Regions from separate parts of the Homo sapiens genome. Here regions 2 and 3 are each linked to region 1. The links are contacts of gene promoters, found by promoter capture Hi-C in blood cells and fetal thymus (Javierre and others, 2016). All regions are on one chromosome and are shown on one strand. Each heading gives the region's core, a stretch centred on a gene start or on the middle of the fragment in contact. The rest is flanking DNA. Distances are from core to core; before and after follow the strand shown.

Evidence for each region. Contacts are between HindIII fragments. The CHiCAGO score rates a contact against its expected background, and 5 or more counts as called.
Region 2: a contact is called between a fragment that was not itself captured here and the fragment with the promoter of HOXD1 in region 1, in 1 of 17 cell types (neutrophils). The highest score is 6.1, in neutrophils.
Region 3: a fragment that was not itself captured here is called in contact with the fragment with the promoter of HOXD1 in region 1 in 4 of 17 cell types (naive CD8 T cells, total CD8 T cells, naive B cells and 1 more); the score reaches 7.1 in naive CD8 T cells.

Annotation. Positions count from the first base shown.
Region 1 is chr2:176,186,944-176,190,138 of GRCh38, reverse strand. HOXD1 (homeobox D1) reads right to left here and starts at 1,471. Exons shown (of 2, transcript NM_024501.3): 1 at 686-1,471; 2 at 1-331. The coding sequence starts at 1,337. It overlaps HAGLR (HOXD antisense growth-associated long non-coding RNA), which reads left to right and starts at 1,181. Exons shown (of 3, transcript NR_033979.2): 1 at 1,181-1,325. MIR7704 (microRNA 7704) reads right to left here and starts at 1,296; the gene lies at 1,238-1,296. The HindIII fragment of the contact is 11,390 bases long and covers 1-3,195 here.
Region 2 is chr2:175,324,371-175,327,594 of GRCh38, reverse strand. No RefSeq gene overlaps it. Among named protein-coding and RNA genes, the nearest start is that of ATP5MC3, 140 kb to the right of the region's middle. The HindIII fragment of the contact is 2,057 bases long and covers 799-2,855 here.
Region 3 is chr2:177,140,179-177,143,327 of GRCh38, reverse strand. All of the region lies in intron 1 of LOC105373760 (a long non-coding RNA gene), which reads left to right. Among named protein-coding and RNA genes, the nearest start is that of MIR4444-1, 71 kb to the left of the region's middle. The HindIII fragment of the contact is 2,510 bases long and covers 162-2,671 here.

The DNA of each region.
Region 1 (3,195 bases), core at 222-2,721:
GAAGGCTCTTGGGACTGAGAAGGGCTGCCGGGGTTCTTGATAAACTTAGTGGGGGTTGTTCCAGAGAGGGGAAGTTGGAGGGGAGCCACAGGAATGGCCGTGGCCAGAAGCCCTTCTCGTTCCCTTTTCTTCTGTTTCATCCTGCGGTTCTGGAACCAGATTTTGACTTGCGTGTCATTCAGGTGCAAGCAGTTGGCTATCTCGATGCGCCGGGCTCGAGTTAAGTACTTATTGAAATGAAACTCTTTTTCCAGTTCTGTCAGTTGCTTGGTGCTGAAATTCGTGCGGATCGCGCTGGAGGGGCTAGCGGCCCCATACTCGGCGAGTTTGCCTGCAACGTAAAGACAGGGCGTCAGCCAGGCCTGAGGCCGGGGACAGAATGTGGGTGAGCAGTGGAGCTAGTTAGAATCAAAGTCCCAGCGCAGCCCTCCTGGGTCCCTAGGAACAGAATTTGTACCAGGAGAAGTTCCACGGAGAGCTCCTTCCTGAAATTTTCTCAATGCCTGGCACATTTTCCGAATCTGTACTCGAGGCAGACTCCATGGAATTCGCCCGGGAACGCGTCTCCTCCACAAAACCCAAACCGCTGTCTGGAAAGGCAGCGACACCACGCTCCCAGCGCATTTCCGCGGGGGAGGCTCCGTCCCCAACCCCAGGTGGCCCCATCCAAGGCCCGCGGACTTACCTTTCTTAGAGGCATTCCTCTTCACTTTCATCCACTCGAACGTGCTGAAGGCGGCAGGGAGGCCGGAGGCGGGAGAGACGGACTTGGGGTAGGTGCCTGGGGCCGGGGATGCGGTCTGGAAAGCACCAGGGTGGCCGTCGGCTGACGCTTTGAGACAAGCCGGAAAAGGGCCGGGTTCGCCGAAGGCCGCGTAATCCACCTGGCCGCTGAGGAGGAAAGAGCCGCCGCCCGAGAAGACGGCCGAGGTGGCGTAGTGGACGTGAGACCCGCCGTCGTCGGCCGCCCGCCCCAGCACGCCCGGGAAGTCGTACGCCGGCCCGGACCCCAGGAAGCCGTAGTCCGCGCCCCCAGCTGCCGCGGCAGGTGCGGCACCAGGTTCGTAGGCCCCCTCCAGGGTGCACTGCGCGTACTGGGGCGCGGCCGGAGGCGGTACGGACGGCCGCGCGGGGGCGGCCGGGGGCGAAGGCGAGGGTCGGGCGGCGGCCAGGGGCAGACAGCTGACGAAGGCGCCGTCGCCGTTGCCCAGAGGGAAGGCGGGCTGCAGAGCCACGGGCCGGGCGTCGGAGCGGCAGAACTTGGGTGCCAAGCTGAGCACGTCGCCGCCGACCCCGCCGCTGCTGCTGCATGACACGTACTCCAGGTAGGAGCTCATGGTTCGGGCCCCACCTTTCTGAGGGCGCAGGCCGGGGCCGGAGTACGGAGCCGGGCAGAGGCTGAGCAGGACTGCCGCCGTCTGCGCCGCTCCGCCAGCCCTCTCTACCCGAGCTGCCCTCTCCAACCCATGGCGAGTGAGCCGGAGGTAAATAGTGGCCTAATATACCGGCGGGGGCGGCCACGTGGCGCTGGCCGGCCAATGGGCGGCCTCTCCGCTCGGCCCGGTCGGCGCGCCGCTCCTCGCGCCTGCCCCGCAGCCAAGTTAGCCAAAGCAGCCCAGGGCCGCCGCCCAGCGCCCCCGAGCCCCGAGGAGAGCCGTCGCGACCGGGGGCTGCCTGGGCAAGGGCGGGGCGAGAGGGCAGAACGCCTGCTCTCGGACAGGTATTGGGCGAGGTGGGGGGAGAAAGGCAGGACTGGACGCTTGGGTGAGGGCCCGTGGATGCAGCGGGGCGAGCCGCTTCTGCTCTGGATCGTGGGGGGGGCTAGTCCCTCGAGGGCGGAGTGTGGGCGTCGCGGCATGGAAAAGGTTAAATGGGAGCGTGACGCGCGGCCGGTGGAGACTGCTCTTCGCCCACCTCCAGGACAGATAAAGTTATTCCTCTTCCCCTCTTCTGAGTCCTCTGCGCTTTCGGTTTGCTTGGCGCTGATGTTATCCCTCTTCTAAACCTAGAGCAGATGTTTGGTTTTTTCCTTTCTTCCCCCTTTCCTAGGACTCATGGAACTACATCTTATGCTGTGAGTGCTGTGTGCCTAGGGCGGGACAAAATTTTCACTTTTTGACTAGGCTTCCTTTTAACGTGACTTTGCAGCTTTCTTCTATCCCTCGCAATTTGTGGCGGCGTGATGAGGGCCAGTGTTGTAGTGCCAGATTTTGATAAAGTTTCTGCCTTGTGGGGTGGTTTAGCAGATTTTCCCCTCCGGCTGGGTTGTTGGAATAAAGAATCCAGAGTGGTGGTGGAACACTCCTTATGCTCCTTTCTGGGAGACTGGCACAGGCACCGGTGCGGCGCTTGCTTTCACTGAGGAGCTTGTCTGGAGGGCGCAAGGGCTTACCGGGGACGGGTGAGATCTCAGAGGTTTAGATGGACTTGTACCTCGAAGCAATTAGAGCTTCTGCTCCATCAGATAAGTGCTGCATCGTCTCTTGTGAGTGAAATCTGAGGGCTCACAATGTTAATGGGCTCACGTCTTTCCCTTGATAATATGGTTTTGTTTACTGAGTGTAGAGAGACGGGAAATAAAAGTGCAATTGCCACAGGAAATGAAGAGTAGAAAGGTTACAAAGACCAGCTTTACATTGACAAACTTTCCAACTTCCTTTAGTATTTCTTTTAATGTTCCCTTTTGAGGGGACTGTAGGAAAATTACAAATTAGATAAATAGAGGTTATTTACACACAGTAGTTATGAAAGAGGGTGGTTTCCTAAAACCCTGTGTGAATAAAGACTCTAAAGAGTCTACTCAGAGCTTATATCAAGTGCCCTTGAAAAGTTAATCTATTACAGCCTCTAAGTTATGGTAACCGAGGTTTTATCATTGTTTTACTGATTGACTTGTCATAAAAGAGCGATTGAGCTGTTGTTGCCTAAATTTCCACTCTGAGGAAGTCTTTAGAATAGGCGCCATCACAGCCCAGGGAGCCAGTTCCTTCCAGGGTTGTGGACTTGTGAATAAACAAAGCCCTACCAAAATGTGGACTACTGATGGACCCGAAGTTGCTGCAGGATGGGGGAGGGATGTCCCCAGGTTGAGGGGAGCCAGTAGAGGGTGGATGCCTAGGAATCAGCACAAAGTTAAAGAGGTCTGTGGTTCCTGCACTGCTGGAGTTCTTGAGTTTGATTGGAAATGGAATACCT
Region 2 (3,224 bases), core at 578-3,077, 860 kb after region 1:
ATGATAGAGACTGTCAAGTGAGATGAAGTTTTCTGGGTTCCCCTTAGAGCGGGACCCTTCACAGTAGAACATTTTAAACATGACTGCTCCAAAAGGCAGACATCCATGGGTTAAGATAAAGGACTCTGGGTGCCGTCAAACTAGAATGGGGCGCAATGGATGGATACTCATCCATTTCATGGAGGAGACTAGGAACCAGAACACAAGGTGGCCTCCTCTATTCTTTTGCTGATTTCCCCTTCTCCATCCTGTCCAGGCCATGAATACCCTCCTCCCTAATTCTCTTTCTCCCAGGAATACTGCTTCTCTTCTTCCAGCTGCTAAAGAAAGTGGGGTAGATAAAACTCTGCATCACATCATGGAGATGGCTGTTTAATTTGAGATGAGTGTTACATTACTCATTGCTCTGAGCCCCCTTTGATCCACCAACATTTGCTTCTTTTATCCCCATGTAGTGAGTACATTAGTGCCTGAATGCTGCGTGATCTCATTGTCTTTTAGATGCTGTCAGAGATTATTTACTCAGGAAAACAGATGAATATCTTGTTTAATGTCAAAATAATTACTATTTGGCTGGCCTGACAGTTTATTTATGCTTTCAATATTTTTATGTTTATATCAAAAGAGCATTGCTAAAATTGTATTTTGCCATTAAACAGGATATGACAACTTTTTTAAACTTAATTTTTCTGTTTGATGAGTTTGTTTATTAAAATGGTTAGAAGATAACGGAACCAAGTGGAAATGGTCACTCGAGTTGAAATGTGCAGCTTTATGTTTCTTATTTGTATAAAAGCTTGAAAGAGGCAGTAAATAATGCTTTAAGCAAGGGGCACTAAAATGCAGTGGTTAAGAACACAGACTGTAGCCCCAATTTCAAATCCTCACTCTGCAGTCTTAGTCCAGTTTTTCAACCTATCTGTGACTTGGTTTCCCCATCAGCAAAATAGATATTATTGTAAGAGTTGAAGGAGTTCATATACATAAATTTCCTGGCATATGCAAATGCTGCTTAAGTATTAGCTATTATTTAAATAAACATTTGTTTTTTGCTTTTTGTTTTTTTGCAGTTGCAGGATTTAATAGAGTGAAAACAGAGCTCCCATACAAAGGGAGGGGACCCAAAGAGGGTAGCCGTTGCTGGCTCGAATGCCTGGGTTTATATCCTGATCACTGTCCTTCCTGCTGTGCTCTCAGGCAATAGATGATTGGCTATTTCTTTACTTCCTGTTTTTGCCTAGTTAGCATTTTAGTGAGGTCTCTTTATTACCTGATTGGTTGGGTGTGAGCTAAGTTGCAAGCCCCATGTTTAAAGGTGGATGTGGTCACCTTCCCAGCTAGGCTTAGGGATTCTTAGTCAGTCTAGGAAATCCAGCTAGTCCTGTCTCTCAGTAACCCCTCTCAACAGGAAAACCCAAGTGCTGTTGGGGAGGTTGGTCGACGACCGCTCTAACTGCTTCCTGCTGAATTGGGGCATAATAGGGGTTGTGCAGTTGAGATTTCCTTGGGAGGGGTGCCTTCAATGTCATTAACACGGAGCATGGGCTAGCAGGCCAGTCCAAGGGTCCTTGGTAGATTTTAGTCATGGACTGCATCTGGGGCTCCAATTTAAGAACGATTTGCAGCTTTACAGCTTCAATTCTGGAAGAGACAAACTTAACAAGGAAATAAAAGATACAGGGTCCAAAGAGGAGTAACAATATTATAGCTGCTAGAGGTCCTAAGAAGGGGAGAATTCAGGGCATCCATTGGCTGAGGAGGCCCCAGGGTCCAGTGTTTTGAAGCTCCTCTGCTCTACATTGCATTCGATCTTGAATTTCTTTAAATTTCTCGGTAACAATTCCAGATTGATTAACATAACAACAGAATTCTTCCCCTAAAAATAAACAGGTTCCCCCTCTTTCCGTGGTTAGCAAGTCTAAAGCTCTTCGATTTTGAAGGACTACTGCTGCTAGGGAGTTAAGTTAATCTTGCAAGGTGACCAGGGAGTCGGCGACCCATTCCATGTCACCATTTAGTTCTTGAGACAGTTTGTAGTAGAACTGAGTAGAGGTTGTGATACCACCACACAGCACACCTAGCACTCCTGCTCTGATAACAAAAGGAAGAATGGGTACTCTTTTGTTGCGGGGCTTAGGTACATGATTGTATAAATCTAGTTCTTGAGACAGTTTGTAGTAGAACTGAGTAGAGGTTGTGATACCGCCACACAGCACACCTAGCACTCCTGCTCTGATAACAAAAGGAAGAATGGGTACTCTTTTGTTGCGGGGCTTAGGTACATGATTGTATAAATCTTGTTCAGTGTAGATGGTCATAGGAGGCACTAAGAATGAGAGGAAGCACATAGATTCTGAAGAGCCATTCAAACAATGATAGGCTGAGGTACCACAGACAAAAAATATTCCTGAGGGTAGGCAGACCACTCATGTGGGAGGAGTTACCCACCTGAAATAAACACAAGTTTTACAGTCATTCTGTGAGTTTGAAATGGGGAAAGGGAGTCCCTATAATTTTATAAGGGACTTGACCTAGAGTGAATCTCCGTGAGCCACCACCTTCCAATGTCTCTGGCCCAATGGCCACCTTGCCTCCATTTTGTAAAGCAAGAAGCCTTCTAAATTCGAAAGCCCTGTCCTGACACTGGACAAATCTTCCTGTTTCTTGGCTGAGCTTACCTGGAAAGGTGTTAAAAAGCCAGGTTTACTTGGCAATAATGTGCCCACTGTTTTCTCTTTTTGGGGGACTCTCTATAAGATTAATTCATCTACACAGACAGGTTTCTCTAGCCATAAACCTTTATTTATTTTCATTCAGCAGCTTTTATTTCAACTCTTTTGTTTACCAAAGAAGCTTAAGGGAGGAAAAGCCCTCCCGGCAGGTTACAACCACTGTGGCACTTGGAAAGAGACACACGGGATGAGGATTCTACAACATAACCCTGCTGGGAGCTCTTCTGGTTATTTTGGCTTTGTTTTTGTGTGGTATGTTACTTCTTTATTCTTCATATGACTGCAACTTTCTATTAAAATAAGCACATATAACTAGATATTAATTCACTAATTCAGCCAAACCAGGTTGTTTCTATTTGCTTCTCAGCTGGGTGATAAATGTATTGGTTTAGCCTCAGGTATGCTTTCTCAAATTCAAGTTCTTTTCTCAAGTTTACAATGGCTTGTGGAGACTCATCTTTCTGCAAGATGTCATTTCTTTTTTTTTTTTTT
Region 3 (3,149 bases), core at 167-2,666, 950 kb before region 1:
TGAGTTGAAGTATTACCTAAATTACATTATGTTTGATGTTACAGTCTGAACCATTTAGTGTATAAAGGTGGGTCTACAATCAATAATCACAAATGTTAAAGCTTTATTTTAGATACAATAAAACATTTATTTCTAAGATGTTAAAAAAAAACCCATAAGCTTCTTACCATAATGTCAATTGCCAATAGATTGATAAGATCTTTCTGCATTTTGACTGCAGGAAATTTTATGGCTAGAATCTTACAATTTACACAACTTACAGTCTTTTTAGGTTATATTTCACATATAAGAAAGTATTTTTTAGGTCTGCCTAGAAATGTTGTAATTTGATATTAAGTTATAGCTTAGATTTTCAACAAAAACAGCAGCTGTAATAGATGAGATTAGCAAGTGGTGAAAAGTTCAAAGCATTTAATGGAATTGATCTACTAAATTAGCATTGACAATTTTTAGTGGCTATCTTAAATATACATTATTATCATGAAAGAATTAGTCCAATTAAGCCTTTACATTTGGAAGATGCCCAGTCTGACCTTGTTCTACTCAATGTGAAAAGTGAGAGGGTCTTTGGGTTTATTTAAATTTGGTGTTAAATCAATTGGTTTGGGGGACCTTTTACTCCTTTTTGGAATGGAAGAAAAACTCAAAGGCTATTTATAGTGACAAATGGGTTATTAGAACAGTTAATATATTATATTATAATTTATAATTATAAATTATAATTAATATAATATATAACAGTTTTTATATTGCAAATAAAAAATGATGACCAGGAGTTGCTCTGAACCTATTCTGGTTTAGGGAGCTGCCCAGCTAAAAAAAAAAGAAAAAATAATGATTGAAGAATAGAACAAAATAATATTTGATACATAGGTGAGAATCAATTAGAGTGGGATTCTTTTCTCACAATTTCTTACTAAAGCCATATTTACTGGGTATACTGGATGTATTTTGGAACTGAAATAATTATATTGTATTTAATATCAGGTTTTATTTAGAACACTCTCAATTAAGAAATAACCAGCTAATAAAAAAATAGAAATCTATGCAAATATACATGAAGAAATAAGTATGGGATTTTCCAGAAATCTAATTTCTATACATCAATAGTATATTTTATATTCTGTTGATACAGACTTCTATGATAACTTGAACATAAATATCATGAAAATAAAATTGAGTTTTGAATTGTCAGTTTAATTGTGCAAACTCTCTGATGATGGCTGGTTACTCATTTATCATGAAATTGTGGAGTCTTGGCTCTTACGTAAGGGGCTTGGTTGAAAGGCCAGCTTCTTAATTCACAGCGGCTTATACGTGAGTCTTCATTGGAGCTCAGGAGCTAGCTCTTTTGTGAAAGCATTTAGTAAAATATATTTTAGTTGAGGTTTTTTTTTTTTTTCTGTTGTTATCCATTCCAATATTTAATGGTCCATTTCCCTAATCTGGGCTTCTAACCCAGACACTTTTGGACATTTTTAATAGAAAAAGATGTCTTTTGCGTAAGATTTCTTCAAAAAGAAAATTGTAACTAATTTACCCCCCAGCTTTCTCTTCTATAAACGGAAAAATCCAATTCTCATTTATCAACTCCCCACCTTTTTAAGTTCTCCTCTGAATGCTCAGCAAATTATTCATATCCATCTTTAAATATAGCACTCTGAGGGGAGTTTAGTGCTTTATTAAGGTATCTGAGGAAGATGGGAGATGATCTCATTTATTCCTGAGGATGTATTGAAAAATCCTCTCTCTGCCAGACTCTGCTAGGTGCTGGGAATACAGTAAGATTTAACAAAAACCTTGAGGGAGAGAAAGATTTGCCAACAAGTAATGGCAATACAACATGTTAAGTGCTAACATGGGTGTAGACAACATGCATTTGTCTGTCAGTCCTAATTCGGTATTCATTGTCAAAACAGTATTTTAAACTGCTACAGCAATGCCTACTGACAGTCATATTTCTATGCAAACAATTTCTAATTAGCTCCTGTAATTCAGGTGTGTACTTTGAACACATTTTTCCATACTACGTTTAATCTACATTTTGTTTCTTATTTGTACAATTTTATCTTAAATTGTTATTTTACCTTCTAAATTTCATTTTTTGGCCTCTTCTGTCTGTTATTCGGGTTGATATCAAAAACACCATTTGTCGTCTCCTCAATTTGAATGCTTTAGTTAGAACTCCCCAGCCAATCTATAGTTAATGAATCAACAGTTGTCTGTTCCTGGTCTATTTTCCTAGCATGCCTTGTAGGAGAGAATCAAAAGCCTTCCTAAAGTCCAGCTTAGGGTTCATCAGTTAATTTTCTGTGATCCATCAGGCCTTCCACTCTGCTATGTAATAGGATGACTGTCTATTATCTACATAGGACAAGTTCTTTGTGAAGCTATATTGATTATTAATGATTGTGTAATTAGGTACGCTCTCAAGAGTTCTGGTTATTTTGGTCCTTTTTTGAATCTCTAGGCATCTACTCAGTTCTCTGAATATTACACAAAGGTAGGGACAATAATTTTGTACCACTCATTCAGTGTTGTCAAATGGAAACAAATCAGAGCTGGGGCTATCAGAAAAGAAGTGGGCAAGTCATGCATCCTGGTCATCGTCTATCACATGTCAGCATTAGCTTCTGCATAGTGCAGCACTGATCATGGCATGATGCAAGCTTTATTTGGTCACCATGGACAAGTATTCCCCTTTTATTGATTTGTAATACACCATTAAGCTTCATTGTAATAAAATTGGACATGATAGATAGCAAAATGATAAAAACCACCTGTAATTCCCCTAACTAGAGACTAGCATTGTTAGCAGTTTGGTTTACACATGCACGTTGGTGTATGTGGATGTGTGTGTGTAAAATGTGTATAATAAACATACATACTGTTTTGCATCAACCCACCTTTTTCACTCAGTACTACATAGAGTTCATTTTTCTAAGATAATGCACATCATATAACCATAGAAATTCAACTTTTCAGTATTGAATCACAACTGTGTTCTTTTTGTTGTTCAATAATACTTCTCTAACTCCATGAGTAAAAAGAAACCTCTCCTTCACTCATACCTCTCTTATAGCATTATCTCTTTTTAAATTTAGGTAGATTCCTTATTATCTTAGTAATTGCAGTCTCTGAGAGTAGGA